Regions from separate parts of the Homo sapiens genome. Here all the other regions are linked to region 7. The links are contacts of gene promoters, found by promoter capture Hi-C in blood cells and fetal thymus (Javierre and others, 2016). All regions are on one chromosome and are shown on one strand. The core of a region is centred on a gene start or on the middle of the fragment in contact, and the rest is flanking DNA. Distances in the headings are between cores, read along the strand shown. Region 1 overlaps RPE (ribulose-5-phosphate-3-epimerase). Region 2 overlaps LANCL1 (LanC like glutathione S-transferase 1). Region 3 overlaps SUMO1 (small ubiquitin like modifier 1). Region 4 overlaps UNC80 (unc-80 subunit of NALCN channel complex). Region 5 overlaps TRAK2 (trafficking kinesin protein 2). Region 6 has its middle 2.5 kb from the start of KANSL1L. Region 7 holds the start of NDUFS1 (NADH:ubiquinone oxidoreductase core subunit S1).

Evidence for each region. The method cuts DNA at HindIII sites, captures the fragments that hold promoters and counts their contacts. A CHiCAGO score of 5 or more calls a contact.
Region 1: a contact is called between a fragment that was not itself captured here and the fragment with the promoter of NDUFS1 in region 7, in 1 of 17 cell types (M2 macrophages). The highest score is 6.8, in M2 macrophages.
Region 2: a fragment that was not itself captured here is called in contact with the fragment with the promoter of NDUFS1 in region 7 in 1 of 17 cell types (monocytes); the score reaches 5.2 in monocytes.
Region 3: a contact is called between a fragment that was not itself captured here and the fragment with the promoter of NDUFS1 in region 7, in 3 of 17 cell types (total CD8 T cells, monocytes and naive CD8 T cells). The highest score is 11.1, in total CD8 T cells.
Region 4: a contact is called between a fragment that was not itself captured here and the fragment with the promoter of NDUFS1 in region 7, in 2 of 17 cell types (neutrophils and total B cells). The highest score is 9.3, in neutrophils.
Region 5: a contact is called between a fragment that was not itself captured here and the fragment with the promoter of NDUFS1 in region 7, in 1 of 17 cell types (total CD8 T cells). The highest score is 5.8, in total CD8 T cells.
Region 6: a fragment that was not itself captured here is called in contact with the fragment with the promoter of NDUFS1 in region 7 in 1 of 17 cell types (monocytes); the score reaches 6.7 in monocytes.

The regions. Positions count from the first base shown.
Region 1 is chr2:210,012,375-210,015,157 of GRCh38, forward strand. The region is part of intron 2 of RPE (ribulose-5-phosphate-3-epimerase); the gene reads left to right. Among named protein-coding and RNA genes, the nearest start is that of RPE, 11 kb to the left of the region's middle. The HindIII fragment of the contact is 1,884 bases long and covers 446-2,329 here.
Region 2 is chr2:210,471,120-210,474,318 of GRCh38, forward strand. It overlaps LANCL1 (LanC like glutathione S-transferase 1), which reads right to left. Exons shown (of 10, transcript NM_006055.3): 3 at 840-957. Among named protein-coding and RNA genes, the nearest start is that of LANCL1, 4.0 kb to the right of the region's middle. The HindIII fragment of the contact is 4,098 bases long and covers 1-3,199 here.
Region 3 is chr2:202,234,857-202,237,878 of GRCh38, forward strand. All of the region lies in intron 1 of SUMO1 (small ubiquitin like modifier 1), which reads right to left. Among named protein-coding and RNA genes, the nearest start is that of SUMO1, 2.2 kb to the right of the region's middle. The HindIII fragment of the contact is 685 bases long and covers 1,347-2,031 here.
Region 4 is chr2:209,993,308-209,996,147 of GRCh38, forward strand. It overlaps UNC80 (unc-80 subunit of NALCN channel complex), which reads left to right. Exons shown (of 65, transcript NM_001371986.1): 63 at 8-119; 64 at 758-957; 65 at 2,022-2,840. The coding sequence ends at 2,288. Among named protein-coding and RNA genes, the nearest start is that of RPE, 7.9 kb to the right of the region's middle. The HindIII fragment of the contact is 8,415 bases long and covers 1-2,840 here.
Region 5 is chr2:201,444,402-201,447,186 of GRCh38, forward strand. All of the region lies in intron 1 of TRAK2 (trafficking kinesin protein 2), which reads right to left. Among named protein-coding and RNA genes, the nearest start is that of TRAK2, 5.7 kb to the right of the region's middle. The HindIII fragment of the contact is 1,860 bases long and covers 595-2,454 here.
Region 6 is chr2:210,172,370-210,175,380 of GRCh38, forward strand. It overlaps a transcript of KANSL1L not described here. Among named protein-coding and RNA genes, the nearest start is that of KANSL1L, 2.5 kb to the left of the region's middle. The HindIII fragment of the contact is 1,056 bases long and covers 839-1,894 here.
Region 7 is chr2:206,157,813-206,160,743 of GRCh38, forward strand. NDUFS1 (NADH:ubiquinone oxidoreductase core subunit S1) reads right to left here and starts at 1,632. Exons shown (of 19, transcript NM_005006.7): 1 at 1,529-1,632. EEF1B2 (eukaryotic translation elongation factor 1 beta 2) reads left to right here and starts at 2,083. Exons shown (of 6, transcript NM_001959.4): 1 at 2,083-2,247; 2 at 2,776-2,898. The coding sequence starts at 2,168. RefSeq lists enhancers at 1,310-1,719, 1,830-2,089 and a silencer at 2,350-2,419. The HindIII fragment of the contact is 3,079 bases long and covers 473-2,931 here.

The sequences.
Region 1 (2,783 bases), core at 138-2,637, 3.9 Mb after region 7:
GACTGTATCAGGAGTTATTCTTCATCATCATGCATTTGCAATAAATATCCTTGATGAAGCAGTAGAAATTAATAAATCTTGGTCCCTGAATACATGCCTTTTTAATATTTTGTGTGGCAAAGTAGGAAGTGCATATAAAGTGCTTGTGCTGCATTGCTGCATACTGGAACATAATGGTTTTCTCAAGGAAAACCACTTGCACCATAGAGGTGTGATCTGAACTAGCTGCTTTCCTCCAGAACACTATGTTTGTTTGAAAGAACAACTGACAGATCAACTATGGTTTTTCAGACCTGGCTATTTTAATGACATTTAAAAAATATTAACTAAATGAGGCTGTCTCTTCAAGGAAAGATACCTTGTCAGTTTTTGTTCCCAAAATTAGAATTTTAAAAAACTTGTGTATCTTACCACTCTGGGTTTGATAGCGTCCCAACAGTTAACAAGCTTTTCTGATGAGATCTGTAGTTATTTTACCAAATGTGATTTTGGGGTACTATGGAATGAAATCTGTCACTATTTGTAAGATGTGTGTAACTCAGTAAATCAGTACTTAAAAGACCCATTCAAAATACAAGACAAACAATGGGTTTTAATGTAACAAAGAATGAAAAGCTCATTGATAGGGTTTACAGAGTGCACACTGCAGCTAACCTTTATAAAATTACCACCCAGCACATTTAAGATAGGCTAGGCTAAGCTATGATGTTTGGTGTGTTAGGTATATTAAATGCAGTTAGAGATAACAGTATTTTCAATTTAGATTGAGTTAATTGGGATGTAACCCCATTGTAAGTTACAGAACATCTGTATTACAACAGATTAGATACAGAACAGATGTGAGAATATAGGTGTCTTCTGTTAAGCCAGACACTGAAAACTTGCAAAAATGTAAAACAAATAATACCACTCTTAATTAATAGGTAATAGAGTTATCCTTTTTTTTTTTTTTTTTGAGACAGTCTTGCTCTGTCACCCAGGCTAGAGTGCAGTGGTGGCCTTCATACCTCACTGAAGCCTCAGTCTTGATGGGCTCCAGCAGTCCTCCCACCTCACCTCTCCCCTCCAGTAGCTGGGACTGCAGGGGCACACTACCATGCCTAGCTAATTATTCTGTTGTTGTTGAGAAGGAGTCTTACTATGTTGCCCAGGATGGTCTCAAACTGGGCTCAAGCCATCCTCCCTCCTCAGCCTCCTAAGATTATAGGTGTGAGCCACCAAACCCGCCAAAAATTACATGCTTTAAAATGTCTTAGTTTGAATTTCTCATACATTAAATATCTATAAATATAATCCATATCAACAGAAGTTTCTTGGGGTCTTTAATAATTTTTAAGAGTGTAAACTCCTGGGCTCAAGCAATCCACTTGCCTTGGCCTCCCAAAGTGCCAGGATTACAGGCTTGAGCCACCGCACCTAGCCATATATAGTGTTTTTTTAATGTAACTTAGAATTTAATAGACCTTAGATTCTTTTTAATCAGCATATTGTTGACCAAGTTTATGAATAATAGATTATGATTATAATAGATGATAGAATGATTGGGAATTGCTGATCTAATGTTAACTATGCACAGATTTGCTGAACCATTGACTCCCTGAACACCATAGAACTTCTCCATTGAGGGTTGCTAGTGGTTACTGGATGCTAGAGGTTGAGTAAGGATGACATAGCTAGCAGTCTGGTAACTTAAGGAATGAATAGAGTAGGTTTTTTTGTTTTTTGTTTTTTTTTTGAGATGGAGTCTCGCTCTGTCGCCCAGGCTGGAGTGCAGTGGAGCGATCTCGGCTGACTGCAAGCTCCGCCTCCTGGATTCACGCTGTTCTGCCTCAGCCTCTCGAGTAGCTGGGATTACAGGCGCCCGCCACCACGCCCAGCTAATTTTTTTGTATTTTTAGTAGAGATGGGGTTTCACCGTGTTAGCCAGGATGGTCTCGATCTCCTGACCTCGTGATCCACCCGCCTTGGCCTCCCAAAGTGCTGGGGTTACAGGCGTGAGCCACCGCGCCCGGCCTGGAGTAGGTATTTTAAACCGGCTTGAATTTTCCTTGTTTATGATGCAAAGAATAAGAAACACCAGATTTAATACATTTTTTTAAGAATAAAGTTTTACCTATTAAAATATGTTCTAATTTAGGCCGGGTGTGGTGGCCCATACCTATAATCCCTGCACTTCGGGAAGCCAGCGTCAGAGGATCACTTGTGGCCAGAAGTTCGAGACCAGCCTGGGAAACAGTGAGAACTCATCTCTATTAAAAAAAAAAAAGTTCTCATACAATTACTTTTGCTGGATTAGAAATACAAACGTTAATCTTGACTTTATTAGTCAAGCTTTATACTTTCTTTTTCTGACTTTTTTTTTTCAAGGCTTTATTGTATTTCATAATTGTTCTGAAATGTTAGAATTTTTTTCTTAAATATAGCTTGGCTGTTTCAGAAATGTGCTTCCTCTAGCAAAATAAAAAACTTAAAACCTCTCCTCACTACCATCTATCAAACACAGGATTCTTCACAGTGTTATTTCTTGGTTTAGCTTGTTTTAAGCTGCCCTCTCCTTCTTATGAAATGCTATTATGTTTTAAATCAAGATCTTTAAGAAGGCCATGCCCATTTTCACCTTATGTGTTTATATGAATCAAGCTTTAGAATTAGGATGAATATCAGGTTTCTTGCAGTCAACATGTCCTTCCCCCTAAATTTGTTCTTGCAGTCTTGCCTCTCAATTAATGGCAGTTCCGTTCTTCTAGTTGATAAGGTCAAAATCCTTGATGCCATCTTTATTT
Region 2 (3,199 bases), core at 581-3,080, 4.3 Mb after region 7:
CACTGCAATCTCCACCTCCCAGGTTCAAGTGATTCTCCTGCCTCAGCCTCCTGAGTAGCTGGGACTACAGGTATGAGCCACCATGCCCAGCTAATTTTTGTAGTTTTAGTAAAGATGGGGTTGCACAGTGTTGGCCAGGATGGTCTTGATCTCTTGACCTCGTGATCCACCCGCCTCGGCCTCCCAAAGTGCTGGGATTACAGGTGTGAGCCACTGCGCCCAGCCTCTTCTTTGATTTTTCTCTTTCTCACCTTTTTTTGACATCAATGCACTGTTTCTTCCTAAACCTCCTCCAGCCTCTCAATGATTGAGATTGGCAATGCAGCAATTGCAAACCAAACAGCAATGACCATATGGGAGGATTAGTTCATGGAAGTAATACTTTACCCTGTATGGATTCCTGTATGGATTCCTGTTACGGGTTAACTTTTTAAAACATGCTTCTGGACATATTTTATTCCTGAGATCAATCCTCATTACCTCCGCTTCAGGCATTGTATTTTGGAACTCTTCCCAATTCTTCCCACTGAAATTACATCTGCAAATTAACTATGTAATATTGAAAATCAATTTTTCTCCTCACAAGTATAGCAGCCATCCAAATGTCAGGCATGAATTACATGAATATGCTTACCATGCCCTAAATTCAGGGCACTATTAAAAACCCAGAAGATACCATGGTTGGTTGGGTTGAGGGCACAGCACTCTCCCAGAAGCAATTACTCATATGCAGATGCAGGAAGCATTTAAGGGTGTACCATTCAGACAGACAGCTCTCGGAAAAATGCTCTGGCTCTTAAGCACAATGCTTATGCCAGCTCACAGTCAGCACTTCATACCTGCCCAGCCAGTGTAACCGGTGCCATCCCGAGGGTCTGCTGATTTCAGGCCTCTCTCCATTTGCTGAAGAAGCTCCCGAATCTTATTGGTCAAGCGTTGTGAGAACTCAGGAGTCAGCTAGATATTAAAGGAAAACAAGTATCAAAATAATGTGGGTCACCCAGCTTGCTGGACTATAAGCTATCAAAGACAGAAAGGTATTTCTTTTCCACTTAGGACATATTTTTCCACCTGGAAGACTAAACAATTTATTTTCTATTCTTAAACAACAACATCACATTAACAAAATTTATAAAATACCGTTGTAACTTATACATGTTTTAAATAAAATTTTTAGTTAAATACTAAAACAGACTGCCAATGATAAACTGGCTCACAGTAATTTTCCACCTAATAGTAATCGTCTATTATTTAAACCAATATTATAATAAAGTCTTTTTATTAAATTAAGCACAAATCAGATGTTTGGTGCTTTCAAACTACTGGATTTTTAGTATTCAAGCTGCAGCAAGGTAAATTCCCTAAAGAAACATCTAATTGCTCTTATTTAAAAAAAAGGATTTAAAAAAAATGAAGTAGCCAAAGAAAAGCAAAACAAATTCATGTATATCAAGAGCCTTAAGCAGAATAGAAAGAATATCAAACTTAGCATCATAAACCCACGTCCAGCACAGTGTCTGGCAGAGAATACGGGCTTCACAAATGTTTCTCAATGAATGAGCCTGTCTACATCCTTACCCGCTATTAGCTGATCTTGCTCAACTCATAACTTCTTTATGTTTCAAATACCTCCATAAAGTCAGGATAATAATAACTGCCACGCCAATTTCAAAAGGTACTTTGGGGATTAAATGAGATAGTGTATCACAAGTCTTTCTCATTCAGGGATGTAAATGTTGACATTTTTACTAATTCTTTAGCAGATCAAGGGTCTAAGGCAAGTAATAGTTTAGATATGGATTGAAAATACACTAAGGCTGGGGCTGTGGGGTTAGTACCACCCATATGAAGGTCCACAGATGCTGTGCAAACAGTGAGGCTCACACAATCATTACGTTATTCTTCTTAAAGGCAAATGAAAAATAATTTTAAACTTCTGCACACACTGAATCAGTGTCTTAAAAAGTCACTGAAGGCCGGGCACAGTGGCTAATGCCTGTAATCCTAGCATTTTGGGAGGCCGAGGTGGGCGGATAACCTGAGGTTAGGAGTTCGAGACCAGTCTGACCAACATGGAGAAACCCCATCTCTACTAAAAATACAAAATTAGTCGGGCATGGTGGTGAACGCCTGTAATCCCAGCTATTCGGAAGCCTGAGGCAGGAGAATTCCTTGAACCTGGGAGATGGAGGTTGTGGTGAGCCGAGATCGTGCCACTGCACTCCAGCCTGGGCAACAAGAGCGAAACTCCATCTCAAACAACAACAACAACAACAACAAAAACCCAAAAAACTCACTTTATTGTCTCCCTCAATAATTTTAAGAACTTGCTGTGATTCTAAGACTTGAATTTCACATAGTAATTAAAATTTCAGAACAATGTGGGGGAAAGTTACAAGGGTATAAACATTTTATTTTACCATGTAAGGATTGTAGAAATAAACCTAACCACTCACATCAGAATCTCATTTTTAAAAATGAGATAAAATCTTAACACTGAAAACAGCAAGAAGGCAGTATCAGAATTAACAACAACAACAATAGTTTAAGGATACGTTAAGATTCACTTCGGAGGAGCATCCTTGATAAGGCAAATCAGACTTTCAACCACATCTGGATTATTTAATCTAAAGCACCACTATGATCCCTTATTTCACTCTTTAGAAGAAACGACGTTGTTTGACAGACACACTCCCATTATTTAACAATTTCTGCAAAGAGGTTAAGATTTCAACTAGACTTGAAAATACATTTAGTAGGATAAAATATACTTCAATGTTAATACAAAAGGCCTATAAATCTCAGCTAGATAGAAGAGTGCATCTATATTGAGAACACGTCATCTACTGTATATAGATCATATATAATTTATCATCTTGCCTGGCCTTCAAGAGATCAAGAATAATGAGAATCTCTCAGCCTTATGAAGGGAAGTTACTTTCTGTTTGGCACATTCTGCATTTAATAAAGGTGACCTCTGTGAGAATATTGATTGCTTGTGGTACACCACCAAATCATTCAAACTCTAGCTATAATCTGAAGTCTCTAAAAGTCCTTTTTTCTTTTCTATTTTTTTCTGACAGATGCCAGAAAACAGACCAGTTCCTTACTGAAATCTTGTGTTAAGAAATTAAGGAGGACAGATCTCCAGGGTTTGATCCTCCGTGTTCAACATTACACAATTTTAGAACTGGTATGC
Region 3 (3,022 bases), core at 439-2,938, 3.9 Mb before region 7:
TTCCTTTTCTTTTTTTTTTTTTTTTTTTTTTGGGACAGAGTCTTGCTCTGTCGCCCAGGCTGGAATGCAGTGGCATGATCTCCGCTCACTGCAACCTCCACCTCCCAAGCTCAAGCGATCCTCTCGCCTCAGACTCCCAAGTAGCTGGGATTACAGGCATGAGCCACCAGGCCCAGCTAATTTTTGTATTTTTAGTAAAGACGTGCTTTCCTCATGTTGGCCAAGCTGGTCTCAAAGTCCTGGCCTCAAGTGATCCCAAAGTGGTGGGATTACAGGCGTAAGCCACCCTACTCAGCCATTAAGAAGTGTTTCACTCAAATTCCAAAAACAATCATTTTTTCATTAATCAATGGAGGACCCAGCAATTGAAGTCTTGTGTGTATTTAATGTCCACCGATTTTAACCTTGTTATTACTCAATTTCACTATTTTAACACCAGACAATAACCTTCTGAGAGCTGCCTCAGAAAACACATCACTCTAAAATAACTTGATTCAAATTAAGGTTGTCTTCTTAGGACAGTGGTTTAGTCTCATGCTGATATTAAACAGTACAGGATTTGGAGATTCTTGTTCTCACTTATAAACCTCTTAAGATTAAGGGTTCAGCTTTATAACTCTTTTAAGTCTTTAGCACTCAACACTGAACTTGTACTGGGTCTTCTTTGTTTTGAGTCAGGGTCTCTATCGCCCAGGCTGAAGTACAGTGGCATGATCTTGGCTTGCTGCAACCTCGACCTCGCAGGCTCAGGTGATCCTCCCATATCAACCTCCTGAGTAGCTGGGACTACAGGTACAGGCCATCATGCCTGGCTAATTTTATTTTTTGTAGAGACGACGTCTCTCTATATTGCCCAGGCTGGTCTCAAACTGGGCTCAAGCAATCCTCCCCCACTTAGGCCTCCCAAAGTGCCAGGATTACAGGTGTGAGGCGCTGCACCCGGCCAATGTACTGAGTCTTTTTTTTTTTTTTAAACGGAGTCTCACTCTGTCGCCCAGGCTGGAGTGCAGTGGAGTGATCTCCAGTTACTGCAACCTCCGCCTCCCGGGTTTAAGCAGTTCTCCTGCCTCAGCCTTCTGAGTAGCTGGGATTACAGGTGCGCACCACCACGCCTGGCTATTTTTTGTATTTTTAGTAGAGACGGGGTTTCACCATGTTAGTCAGGCTGGTCTAGAACTCCTGACCTCGTGATCCACCCAACTTGACCTCCCAAAGTGCTGGGATTACAGGCTTAAGCCACTGCACCCGGCGAGTCCTAATGATGTTGGTCAATCAGCCTACAGCAACAGTTCTCAAACTTTTTGTTCTCAGGAATCTTACACTTAAATTTATTTAGAATCCCATAAAGCTTTTGTTAGGTTGGTTACATCTATTGATGTTTACAGTATTAAACACTGAAAACTGAGAAATGTCTTAAATATTAATTCATTTTAAAATACCAACAAACCTGTTATATGTTAACAAATATATATTTTTATTAAAAATATTTTTCAAAACAAAATTAATGAAAGAGTGGGACTGTTACACATTTTTGCAAATCTCTTTAATGTCTGGCTTAATAAAAACAGCTAAACAGCTGGATTTTCACATCTGCTTCCACATTTAATTTGTTTTATCACAAGTCATGTTAGTTTCTAGAAACGTCCATTGAACACTCATGAAAGAATGACAGTGAAAAAGACAAATAATGTCCTAGTATGAACATGAAATAAAAGAATCTATTTGTATCCTAGGTCCTTCATTTCTTTATGTATCTCTTAAATAACCTGACTTCAAAATGGAGCAATAAATTCTACATTTTATAATTATTTCTTTATGTTGCTCTTCCATCAGTCTACAATAAATTTCAAAATGCTTCCTAGACGCTTCTGGGAAACAAAATAAAAGGCTGACGAAACTAAGCATTTACGCCTATACTTTTCTTCCTAGTAACCAAGTAAACAACTACCTAGGGAAACACAATGCCCACTTGGGAATTAATCTAGATTATTAGTAAGTAGATCCATCCAAAATTCATCTAGATTATGGTTAAGCTTTAAAATGTTAAGTGTACATTTTGTACAATAGTACCAATCTGCAAAAACCTCACTTGCTCTCACGAAATGGTACAAAACTGGGTTAAAAGCCAAGGGAATAGGTGTGTTAAATTTAAAAGTTCAAGTACATCGTGGAGTTGAATGAAAAATAGTTTTCTGAATAACTACCATTAAATGAGTAAAAGTCCAAAAATAATGTAAAAAGTCAAAGTCGGCTGGGCGCGGTGGCTCACGCCCGTAATCCCAGCACTTTGGGAGGCCGAGGTGGGCGGATCACGAGGTAAGGAGATCGAGACCAGCCTGGCCAATATGGTGAAACCCCGTCTCTACTAAAAATACAAAAATTAGCTAGGTGTGGTGGTGAGTGCCTGGTGGTGAGTGCCTGTAATCCCAGCTACTCGGGAGGCTGAGGCCCGAAAATTGCTTGAACCCAGGAGGCGGGAGGGTGCAGTGAGTGGAGATCGCACCACTGCACTCCAGCCTGGCGACACAGCGAGACTCCGTCTCAAAAAAAAAAAAAAGTCAAAGTCGTCTGAGCAAACAAAAGACCAGACAAAAACTTTATGAATTAAAAACTAGCCATAAAGTTGTTTAATTAGAACAGGATGAGGAAGAAAAGGGGAAATCGATCACTCCTGATTAAGTGCAAATCCCAAGTAAATTATTGATACTAACAGTGAGCTGGAGCACTTTGCCTTACCAGGCAACTTTCTGCAAATATTCTGCAACGACTCTACATACACAAAGTTTTCCTATGCTTTTCCTCAAAAATATGAGACTTCCTCAGGTTAATGCCCAGGTGAGATGCTTTTTGTTGCTCTAGCAGTTTAGTTCTATTTTCTTTCTTGGTTATTATGAATGCTCTCTTACAACTGGAGAGCTAGGATGAACCAATCCCGAGTAAGAAACGGGAAAGTACAGTAAAGAGGCGACAGCTCTGCACCCCCACACGGAAAAAGACTCAGAGGAGAGCAGCGGCATCCTTG
Region 4 (2,840 bases), core at 208-2,707, 3.8 Mb after region 7:
TCTTTAGCTAAGACGTCCTCTACTATCACGTCAGAAAACTCAGACTGAACCCAGAAATCGCCAAGGGGCTCGGCTGTCAACCACTCGCAGGAGCATTCAACCTAAAACGAAGCCGTCTGGTGAGGCCTCCTGTGTCCCTTCTGACTATACCATTGACATGATGCCATGCAACTCACCCAGGAAGGCTTACAAAAACCAAGCTGATGGAGATAAGCACACCTTTGGGGAGGTGCTAACATAAGGGAAGGAGTTTCCCAGAAAACTGTAGTGTCTTTTTTTTCTTCTTGCCTTCCCCAGTCCCTGTCTGTACCCCCATGAACCTATAAAAAATGGAAGAGCCCAAGGTAAACCACTAATACTGGGAAATTTGACTATAAAAGGATGTGGCTTCTTTACTGAAGCCAAGGACTGGGTTTGCTGTATGTCTCACTGAAGGTAAAGCTATGATGAATAATAGGGACTTTTAAGTCCTGTTGGCAGTTGTTATGAGGAATGATCAACTTCAATTAATATTCTATACAAATGTTATTTTAGGCCATTTACGTGAAAATGATTTTTCTACGTAAGTCTTACTCTTTGTAAGAAGATAAAATCAAACATGCGCAAAATGTTCAAACGTGCTCTCATTTATTAATAAACCAGCAATGTTTTTATTTTAAAAAATCCCCAGGAGACACTGGTTAATACCAACTATTAAGCATTGACGGTCCGTTTCCACCAACTCCTCCCCAATTTACTGTTTCACCTCTACCTGCAGCGGATCAGAAACGATCTGTGACCTTCATTGAGGCTCAGCCAGAGCCAGCAGCTGCCCCAACAGATGCGCTTCCTGCAACAGGCCAACTACAGGGCTGTAGCCCAGCCCCTTCTAGGAAACCAGAAGCAATGGACGAACCAGTCCTCACATCTTCTCCCGCCATAGTTGTTGCGGATCTCCACAGCGTGTCTCCCAAGCAGGTGAGGGCACTAGAGAAACAGGCAAGGCTTGCTCCCTGTGTACTTACTTCTAGCAGCCACTTGGATATGCACATTTATTCCATATAATTAAGTCCAGGTCTGCAATGCTTTGTTATCCAAACAGATACTGCTCCTGCCATCATGAAAGAGAAAAATCTATATAAAGTATAGCCAGGCATATATCTGCTTAAGAAGGACCAAGAAAAGCCTTGCTATTTTTACCTATGAAAAACCTAAGAGGAAATACTTTGCAGCTAAAACAGCTCTTTAAAACAGGTTTATACAGGTTGAGCATCCCTAATACAAAAATCTGAAACTTTTTTTCAGAAAAATTTGAAACTTTGTAAGTGCTGATGTAATATTCAAAGTTCATGCTCAAAGAAAATGCTTATTGGAGCATTTTGGATTTCAGATTTTTGGATTAAGGATGCTCAACCAGGTAAGTATATAATGCAAATATTCCAAAATCAGAATCCAAAGCACTTGTGTTTCCAAGCATTCAGATAAAGGATAGCTGAAAGATAGTTCAATTTAAAAAAATTAAGTTACCAGTTTAGATAAAGCCTCTAAATATAGAACCTCTATGTCCTATAAGATGAAAGGAACTTTTTGTTTTCATCTTTTTCCTCATTGTTTTGCTATTTTTCCTGTTGATATTTTTCTTGTTTTGGTATATTTTTTCTTTTCATTTTTATAAATGAATTCTTAGAGTGTCAGATTCTTCTCATGTGGTATTTAAGGAAAACTAAAGGGCAATGTTACTGTATACATTTGTATAGTCTTTAATGGTTAAAAAACATTTTAACACTAAGCATTATTATCTCATTTGATCCTCACAGTCTACAAGATAAGCAAGACAAAAAATTGTGTTCATGTTACATGTTCAAAAACTGAGGGTTAGAAAGTTGGAAAGGCCTACGTAAGGTCCTACCTATAACAAAGGCTGGAACTGGGACTAGCCATCTGATTCCTTTTCCAATTACCACTAGACAACAACATTTTTTGATGTTCTTCTCTGGTACCCATCCTATCTTTCCATAATGTTATGATCCTTTTGATCACAGAGTGAGAACTTCCCCACTGAAGAAGGAGAAAAGGAGGAGGACACAGAAGCACAAGGTGCTACTGCACACAGTCCACTCTCTGCCCAACTCTCTGACCCTGATGACTTCACAGGCCTCGAGACATCCAGCCTCCTACAGCATGGAGACACTGTCCTTCATATCAGTGAGGAAAATGGCATGGAGAACCCGCTACTATCTAGTCAGTTCACCTTTACTCCCACTGAGCTGGGGAAAACGGATGCAGTATTAGATGAGTCTCATGTTTAATTCTGTATCTTGTAAGCTCTGCAGGTATAGAGAAGACATGAAAGTGATCTCTCTACTACAAGTTCAATACTTTTGCTTGAAAAAGATTAATTACAAAATAGCACTTTACTTCTAATGGGTGGCACAAATCTGAATAGGTTTTGCTGCCAATACACATGATGTTTCATAAACATCTTAAAAGTCAATGGCTAAAAGGATTTAGTTGTGTGAAAATCACAAAACCAGGGAGGAATAAGGGGAAAGAGCCATTTCACTGCACATTGTTTATGATTCAAGAAGCCTTCAGCAGTTAAAAATATATACTATTCATTGCTGCTTTCATAGAAATATTAACAAATGATATGATCTAAAAATAGAATGCAATTTTTTGAGATTACTCACATTATACATCTCATGCAAATATTTATTTTTATAGTTTAAAAAATATCAATTCAGGTTGGCTATACAAGTAGCAATTTACATAAAAAAATAATTAATAGGAAAAATATTACTTTGGGGAGACTAAATAACAAGCCTGCAGCCATTTTTGTTTTGAGTAACAATACAGCCATT
Region 5 (2,785 bases), core at 275-2,774, 4.7 Mb before region 7:
TTGTTACTTCTTTTAATTCTTCATCACTCTCTTAACTCTGGGCCTTTGTAACTGTTGTTCACTGTACCTGGAATACTCTTTCTCTCTTGTTCTCTATATGCTAACTCCTTCTCACATTTAAGTCTCATTTTAAAACTTACCAGTCTACTTGATCTAAAGTAGCCTCCTCTGCCCACCTTTGTTCTCTAACTCGGCATCTAATTTGTTTCTTTCACACTATAATTTCACATAAATTGTAATAATATATTTGTAATAATATACAAAATTATAATATATGTGTGAAAGAAACAAATTAGATGCCAAGTTAGAGAACAAAGGTAGGCAGAGGAGGCTACTTTACTTTTTCTTGAAAGGAAAGAGAGGGTGCCATTTTCTCTCTCCTCCTTGCTGATCAGAAGAGGAATATAATATGCCAGAAGCTCAAGCAACTCCATAAATAATTGGTGTTGAAATGAACTATTAGCTAAACTGGTGGGGGAATTCTTTCACCATTAACATGCACAATTCATCAACTCCATTGTTACACAATAGAGTATAACACTCTTAAATTAGACTCTATTTAATCATTCCTTCCTTTTTTGTGACTTGTCAAAAAGCTTTCTAAAAAGAAAGAACTCAAAGTTTGGCAAACACTGACAAATAAATATAGATAAGCTCCAAGGACCTCAAGGATCTTTACAAAATGAATTCGTTCCACTGCTATACCACCAGCAGACTTTGTACGCTCATTTTCTAGCATGAATAAACCACAATACGGGGTAGTTAAACAGGGTATCTTCAAGAGGTTATGTGAGTCAGTAGTAAAGCTAAGAATAAAGCTAGAACATCACTTATATATAAATATTAAGCAGCCAGTTGAAAAAGAAAATTTCAATACAATGACCTCAATTAACAACTGGTCAAACAGCTGTTCATTGAACAGCTTTCAACAAATGCCACTTGAATTAAACCAAAAGTACTAAAAAAAGATAAATAGTAGTATACAACAGCCTCTGCCCAAAGGGAGGTTAAAGATTTAAGAAGTCTAAGCTCCAAAAGGGACAGCTCTAATGATCTGGATTAGATCTAATATCCAATGAGCTAAGAAATCTAAGAAAATAAGATAGTACCAGATAATAAATATTTGATGAGTGTTACAACAGAATTGTCGGGAGAGAGCTCTTTTCTAGCTGAGGTGGTCTGGCTTCACACAGGATGTAAGATTTAAGTGGACTCCCTAAGGAGGAAAAGATTTGGATAGGTGAGGAGACTATCTGGTAGGAGAAAATAATAATGATAATATCCAACAGCAAGTAGCAGACAGAGCCAGGTTGGCAGCATATACAGACCAATTTGAGTGGGAAGAATTATGGGGAAGGTATTTGGAGATTTAAATTTGACTAGTTCAGATTAAGAAGTCTGAACTTGATCCTGCAGGGAACACATTTCTAAATAGAAGTGACATTTGAGAGAAATAAATGTAAATGCAGGATGCAGGATAAATTTTGGAATGGAGAGATTAGAGACAAAAATAATTAGAAAATTTTATCACATTTACGCATGGATTATTTTAATAAAGGTATAAACTAGGTGAATGGAAATTTTAAGAAGGATTTACGGGTTTGTGAGATAGTGAAAACAGGACCTGTTAACTGATGAGTTGGGGATAGATGAACTTTTTCCTCTCCTAAAAGATAACTACATCTGGCATATGCCTCAATTACTCAGGCTTGAAACCTTACAACTTCTCTTGCCCCTCACTCCCCGAGAATTCTCTTCCCCAGACATTTCCCCTCCCTGCAAACTAGCTTCTCCATCTTCCCCAACCACACAACATATTCCAGCCAAAAGAAAGAACTGCATTTACTAGCTTCCTAGACACACCAGGAAATTCTCAGTCCTGTAACTCTGTCCATGCTATTTCTTCTAATTTTAATGTCCTCTCCCCATTCTACATATCCAAATTCTAGCCATGCTTCCCACACCAGCTCAATGCCACTTTTCCCAACAGGCCTTCCCAGAAACCCCAACTTGAAGGAGGTATTGCCTCCGAACACTTTCTGCTCTTCTCTAAAACAGTTTTTAAAACCTTAGAGCTGTTCCTTATCTCCTCTGATAAACTGCATGCCTCTTACAGCAAACATACTTATTTTTGTATTACTCTGCCCTCTTTTCACAAATAAAGAGCTAGATAAATATCATATAGCAACAGCACAGTGTAAAGCCAAGAACACAGACTCTAAAGACAGACTGAGTTTGAATCTTAACTCTGCTGCCTGTTAGCTATGTGATCTTGGACAAGCTACTTAATCTCTCTGTGCTTCAGTATGTTTACGTTTAAAATGAATAGTAGGTATTTCAAAAGGTTGTCAAAGAATTTGGCTTAAATCTGTGTCAGCACCATAAAAGTGTCTATTAAATACATAAGATCACTTTTTAGAGTGGAAAAATCTGAATATTCTGATAGTTGTATAAAGCTTTATGATCTATACAAGGAAAAGCAAAATGTCAAAATAAAGACAGCCTCTGGGTACAAACAGCTATATACAAATTCTTTCCCTATCTTCTTATGTACACCCTAAGGGTTAGCTGTGCCCTTTATAATGTTATATTAACAGTGGCTCTGTTTTAGTTAGACATTTCAATATTCTGGGAAAACTGTTAGTTCAGCATCCTGTGGCACTAGCTACCTTGGTTACCTTGTCTCCGGTCTTATTACCTTTCATTTATCCTTTACAAGTCTTAGTCTTTCTAAAATGCAAATCTAATGCTTTTCCACTGCTACAAACCACCTCCATCCCATCTT
Region 6 (3,011 bases), core at 117-2,616, 4.0 Mb after region 7:
CTTATCAATTGGATAAGATCCCGGGGGCGGAAGAGGGGAGAAATCCAAGGAATTGCAGTCATAACAAAGCGTAATCCGTAACATAGATAACTGGAATTGGAAAATTAGCTACTCGTTCCTGGTTCTTCTAGTAGATTGTGATATTACTGAAATAATTTTTATGACCAGCTGCATTTATTGGAGCTATATTTTTTTAATTACTGAATAATTGCACCTCGATATGGGGCAAGGGAAGAATTTTAGGAAATTGATTTACTTTCATTGTAATAAAAATTGTAAGCTAATGATGTGTTGTGAAAAATAATTAAATCAGTAAGTATTTATTGGATATTTACCATATTCAAAGGACTGTCCTAGTCCCTGGGGACAGAAATGCAAAAATGAATAAAGTATTTTTTAAAGTTTTGTTTTTTTAATTAGCAGTTTGAGACATCTAATAAGCATGTGTTAAGATAGATCAAAGGAAGATTCTGGATTTGAGTTGGACGTTTAAAAGACTTAAGAGAGAGGAGGAAGGCATCAATAGTTCAGGAGATAGTGTCCTTGGGTGGTTTGAGGAGATGTTGTGTGAATATTTGGGGGGCAGAAAAGTACATTGTCAACTAGATTGAGTAAATCTTGAATGACAGGAATTCAGATTTTAACCTGAAGGAACTGTAGAGACATCAAATCATTTAATGGTAGTTTTCTCCTGTGAAATAATTTTTTGCTACCAAACAAAATATTTATATATTTGCCAAATGTTTATTGAACACATGTTTTGTGATGGCTAATGAAGATATATTAGTAAACAAATTCCCTGTCCTCATGGAGTTTATAGAGGATGACAAAGGGATTAAGCTTTGTAACTACACAAATAGTGATTCATACAGCATTTCTACATATATTATGTAATTTGTTCATCACATAGCCGTGGGAGGTAGGCTGTTTCCAATACTCTAGATTAATTTTTTTTTTTTTTTTGAGACGGAGTCTCACACTGTCTCCCAGGCTGGAGTGCAGTGGTGCGATCTCGCCTCACTGCAAGCTCCGCCTCCCGGGTTCATGCCATTCTCCTGCCTCAGCCTCCCGAGTAGCTGGGACTACAGGCGCCCGCCACCAAGACCGGCTAATTTTTTTTTTTTTTTTTTGTATTTTTAGTAGAGACGGAGTTTCACTATGTTAGCCAGGATGGTCTAGATCTCCTGACCTGGTGATCTGCCCGCCTCGGCCTCCCAAAATGCTGGGATTACAGGCGTGAGCCACAACACCCGGCCGCTCCAGATTAATTCTTTTATCTTCTAGTCAGCCCTGCCGCCTGCTAAATGTTACAGACCTTAAATAAATATTTCAATCTATCAAGCTATCATACATGTACATTTTCCCTATTTTATATTCGGTTTAATAGGAATGTGGGGAGATGATTAACAAAATAATACAGGTTTGATATAAAATATATAGGAAAGCACAAAGAAGAAAACCACAATCATATGCAAAGTCTGTTGTATTTTATATGTATGACACTGTGCATACTGGTTTTTTATCCCATTTAGCTACATGTTAAGCACACTATCCCTTGACACTGAATATTGTTCTAAAGCATGATTTTATTATTTGTAGCATATACATGCGAGTTTTCCAGACACTATAGAATATCAGTTCTCCTTATTACAAAAATTGATATACTGAATCATTTGTCAAATTATTTTCTATATTACTCAGCAACAGCCTGAAAAGTGCATGTAGTTAATGTTTTTTTAAAATCAAGGACATATCATTTAGAAGGTACATTAAAAGCATTCTGATTTCCAAGAAAAAATATAACAGTGGTAAGAATAGAACACTTTAAAATCCAGCAAGAACAAGGAGAAGTAAAGGGCACCATTCTTGCTGACATAATAATTACCTATCTGGAAGCTTTAAAAAATGTCCAGGTAAGCAGTATTACAATGATTTCATGAGATAAACTTCTCTCTTCAACACTGGTTTTTATTCAGTCATTCCTTTCACTCAAGAAACATTCATGCAACACTTAGTATAGCTGACACTGTGATAAATGCTAGAGATAAAGGAGAAAGATCAATCTTTAATTTCAAGCAACTCACAGCCAAGAAGGGGCTTTTCTATCCCCCTTTGTTACTTTGTTTTTCTCCATTGCACTTATCAGCATGTAATGTAACATAGATTTTGATTTTTTTACTTTTGTAGTCTATCGCCCTAAATTAGACCATAAGCTCCATGAAGTCAGGCACTTTTGCTGGTTCGCTCATTGCTGTATCCCTAGAGCCTAGGACAGGGCCTGACACATGTGGATTCTCAATGCATATTTAATGTCTGGATAAATTAATTTTCACATCCCAGAAAGTGAATGTTATATTCATTTTCCAGGTGAAAAAAATATGAAGCTCAGTGAGATTAATGTACCTAGATTCTTATGCTAATAAATGGCCCATTTCGAAGACAGACCTGACTGGGTCCAAAGCCAGAGTTCTTTCCTCACTACCTCTCACAGAATAGAAAGCCTATTCTATTCTATTCTATTCTATCCTATTCTATTCTATTCTATCCTATCCTATTCTATTCTATTCTATTCTATTCTATTCTATTCTATTCTATTCTATTCTATTCCATTCCATTCCACGCCATGCCACGCCACGCCATGCCACGCCACCCCACCCCACCCCACCCCACCCTACCCTACCCTACCCTACCCTACTCTATTCGAGGTTGTCCTATTTATTTCTCCACATTTCTATGCCCTGAGAAACTGTCCCCCACTGTTATATTCCAGTATATTTAATTCTTCTTTTATGATCAGGTTTAGAGAGGGAAATAGAAGCAGAACGGCTAAACATGATAATCCCTACTCAGGACAGATTTAGCTTTAACTAACCAGTATCTATAAACAAGCAGACAAAAGGTAGAGGTAGGTAGCAAGACCTATAAGAATCTTCGAACCAGGGCTAAGTATAACAGAGAACAGAACTGGCCCATGACTACAGGGGAACAAAATGATTCCCTGTGTATATGAA
Region 7 (2,931 bases), core at 382-2,881:
ATCATTTCTTAAACTAGACTGGATACTTTTCCATATAGGGACTATGCTATTCCACGTTCTCCAACATGGATCCATCCATTTACTTCTTGCCTTCCAAGGTACCACCCTATCCCAATCCACCATCACTCCTTGCCTGGAGTATTTCAATAGCTTTTTTTTTTTTTTTTTTGAGACAGAGTCTCGCTCTGTCGCCCAGGCTGGAGTGCAGCGGAGCGATCTCGGCTCACTGCAAGCCCCGCCACCCGGGTTCACGCCAGCCTCCTGCCTCAGCCTCCCAAGTAGCTGGACTACAGGCGCCCGCCACCACGCCCAGCTAATTTTTTGTATTTTTAGTAGAGACAGGGTTTCACCGTGTTAGCCAGGATGGTCTCGATCTCCTGGCCTCGTGATCCGCCCGCCTCGGCCTCCCAAAGTGGTGGGATTACAGGAGTGAGCCACCGCCTCCGGCCTTCAATAGCTTAACAGGTCACCAAGCTTCCACACTATTCCCACACAGCCTCTCCCCTCTTGCCACCGGCTGTGACCTCAGACTGAAATGCTCTTCCCTGGCCCCTCCTTATCCTTCAAATCTTGGCTTAAAAGCCTTTTCTCAGTTTCATTGACCAGGCTATCTAACATTTACGATTCCCCCAGCATATCATCCATTTTATTCTTCTTTACGGACTCATTTCTGGCTCGTAGTAAATGTTCAATAACGGTTAAGTGAACTGAATCTCTAATTTCTGGTCGTTAATTTGTAGAGACCACTTTCCCGGATTTAAAAAGTGCAGGTGCTCTGGCAGCCTTAAGTCGGTGAAAACAAGAATATTCCGCAAAACAAAAATAACTTGTTTATTCATCAAAAACAGTTAACGTTACACTTCTATACCGTCAATTCGTGTGTGAACAGAGTTGTGTCTGATCCAAGACCTTACAGTTCAAGCACTGGATCCCAATAACCTGTAAACAACGTTTTGTTATTTGCAATGCAATCCTGGGCTAACTTTTCAAAAGTCGTTTTTCTCAATTTCCCGTTAGTTAAAGGAATAAAAAAATGCTGTCCAACGTGGTCAATGGACCAAACAAACAAGGACAACAAACAGAAGCGTGAGCCATTGCTAACACAACAGCGACCAAACAATCATGCACTGTATCAGGCGTGTAAAAATCTGGGGGGAAAGGCTTAGTCTTAAGGCCTAAGTCATCGGACACTGGTCCTCTCCCGGGGAATAAAACGGCCTCCTCCTCTGAGAGGGAAATGTCCTGAATTTTCCCTGCAGAGGGAAGGTCACCTGCAAGCCTACATTCGTGACAGCGTTCCCGAGGACCCCCTGATCCTCATCTTCTTTTCTGCTTCATCAGACCAGAGACCGTGGCTAAAAGCCCCCCATCTGCCGGCTCTCAGGGGCTTCCGAGGCGGCGGGGCGGGAGGCGGCGCCCAGTCAAGGACAACAGAAGACTACGTCGCGTGGGCCAAAGGAAACAGTCCCGTCAATAAATAAGCCTCTGGCCGACGCACCTCACCCTTCCCATCCATACAAGACCTCACCTTCTCCCCGGAGCCGCGGAGGCTGTTCTGCTAAACTGTCTGGACCACGACGACCCCCTAGGAGGCCGGGTCGCTTATTCAATATGGCGGCCTCGGCTAACTCTGTCAGCCGGGCCTGGAGAACGGAAAGCCCGGAGGGACTAGAATCCTTGCATTCGACAAGTTTGTCGGCAATTTCCGTCAGCCGACCAGAGGGCGGAGCTGAGGTCGGCCCAGCCCGGAGGCGGGAAGGACAACTTGGACCCGCAGTTCCGCCGGAAGTGGCCCCAGCCTCGAGGCCGGGCGTCTTCGGTCATCTCCGGCGCTTCTAGGGCTGGTTCCCGTCATCTTCGGGAGCCGTGGAGGTACGAACTTAAGACATGCCTATTTTATTAATTTACTTCCAAACGCAACGAAAGGTCCATGGACAATTTGTGGGCCATTTAATTCAGGGCCCCCAATTCGTACGTGGAGAAGTGGGAATGCAAAAGTACTTTGACCTTTAACCTTCGGTCCGGCGCGGTGGAGGGAAACGCCTCCGTCTCTATATAAGGAATTTTCCGGTCTCTTCGGGTCCTTTTTCCTCTCTTCAGCGTGGGGCGCCCACAATTTGCGCGCTCTCTTTCTGCTGCTCCCCAGCTCTCGGATACAGCCGACACCATGGGTTTCGGAGACCTGAAAAGCCCTGCCGGCCTCCAGGTGCTCAACGATTACCTGGCGGACAAGAGCTACATCGAGGGGTGAGCGGACGGGCTGAGTCGGGGTGGCGGGGAGGTTTCTCCGCCCGGGGCCGGGGCCACGTGGCGCAGCGTGTCGGCTGCCGCGGGAGGGAGGGAGGCCGGGCCCGGGGCCCTTTCGAGAGGGAGGGGAAAGCGCCCCGTTGCCGTCTCCCAAGGCCCTCGTGTGGGGCGAGCCCGGCCTCCGGGGAGCGGTTCACGAGCAAGGAAAGGTTAAAATGTGCTTTATTTACACTTAATTCAGCCAGGTGTTTCCGCATCGCTGCCCAGTTAATACATGTTAAGCTGTAGATAGAGCAACGCCAGACATTGCAGTATTTGAGGTCTACTTAGTGGCAGACATTTCTCAGGATAGCGCGGTGACCCAAACATATGGTTTGATTTGAAGGAGCTAATAAGAAAAGAAAAGCATTAAAGCAACCCTGCTGGGGTTAGTGCCCACTAATTAATGTGATGCATACGGTATTTATTATTTATTCGCTGGCGTTTGTTTTTCAAAGGTGTGTGTGAATGTTTCTGTGTCCTTGGCAGGTATGTGCCATCACAAGCAGATGTGGCAGTATTTGAAGCCGTGTCCAGCCCACCGCCTGCCGACTTGTGTCATGCCCTACGTTGGTATAATCACATCAAGTCTTACGAAAAGGAAAAGGCCAGGTAAAATCATCTTTGTATAGAGCTGAAGAATAA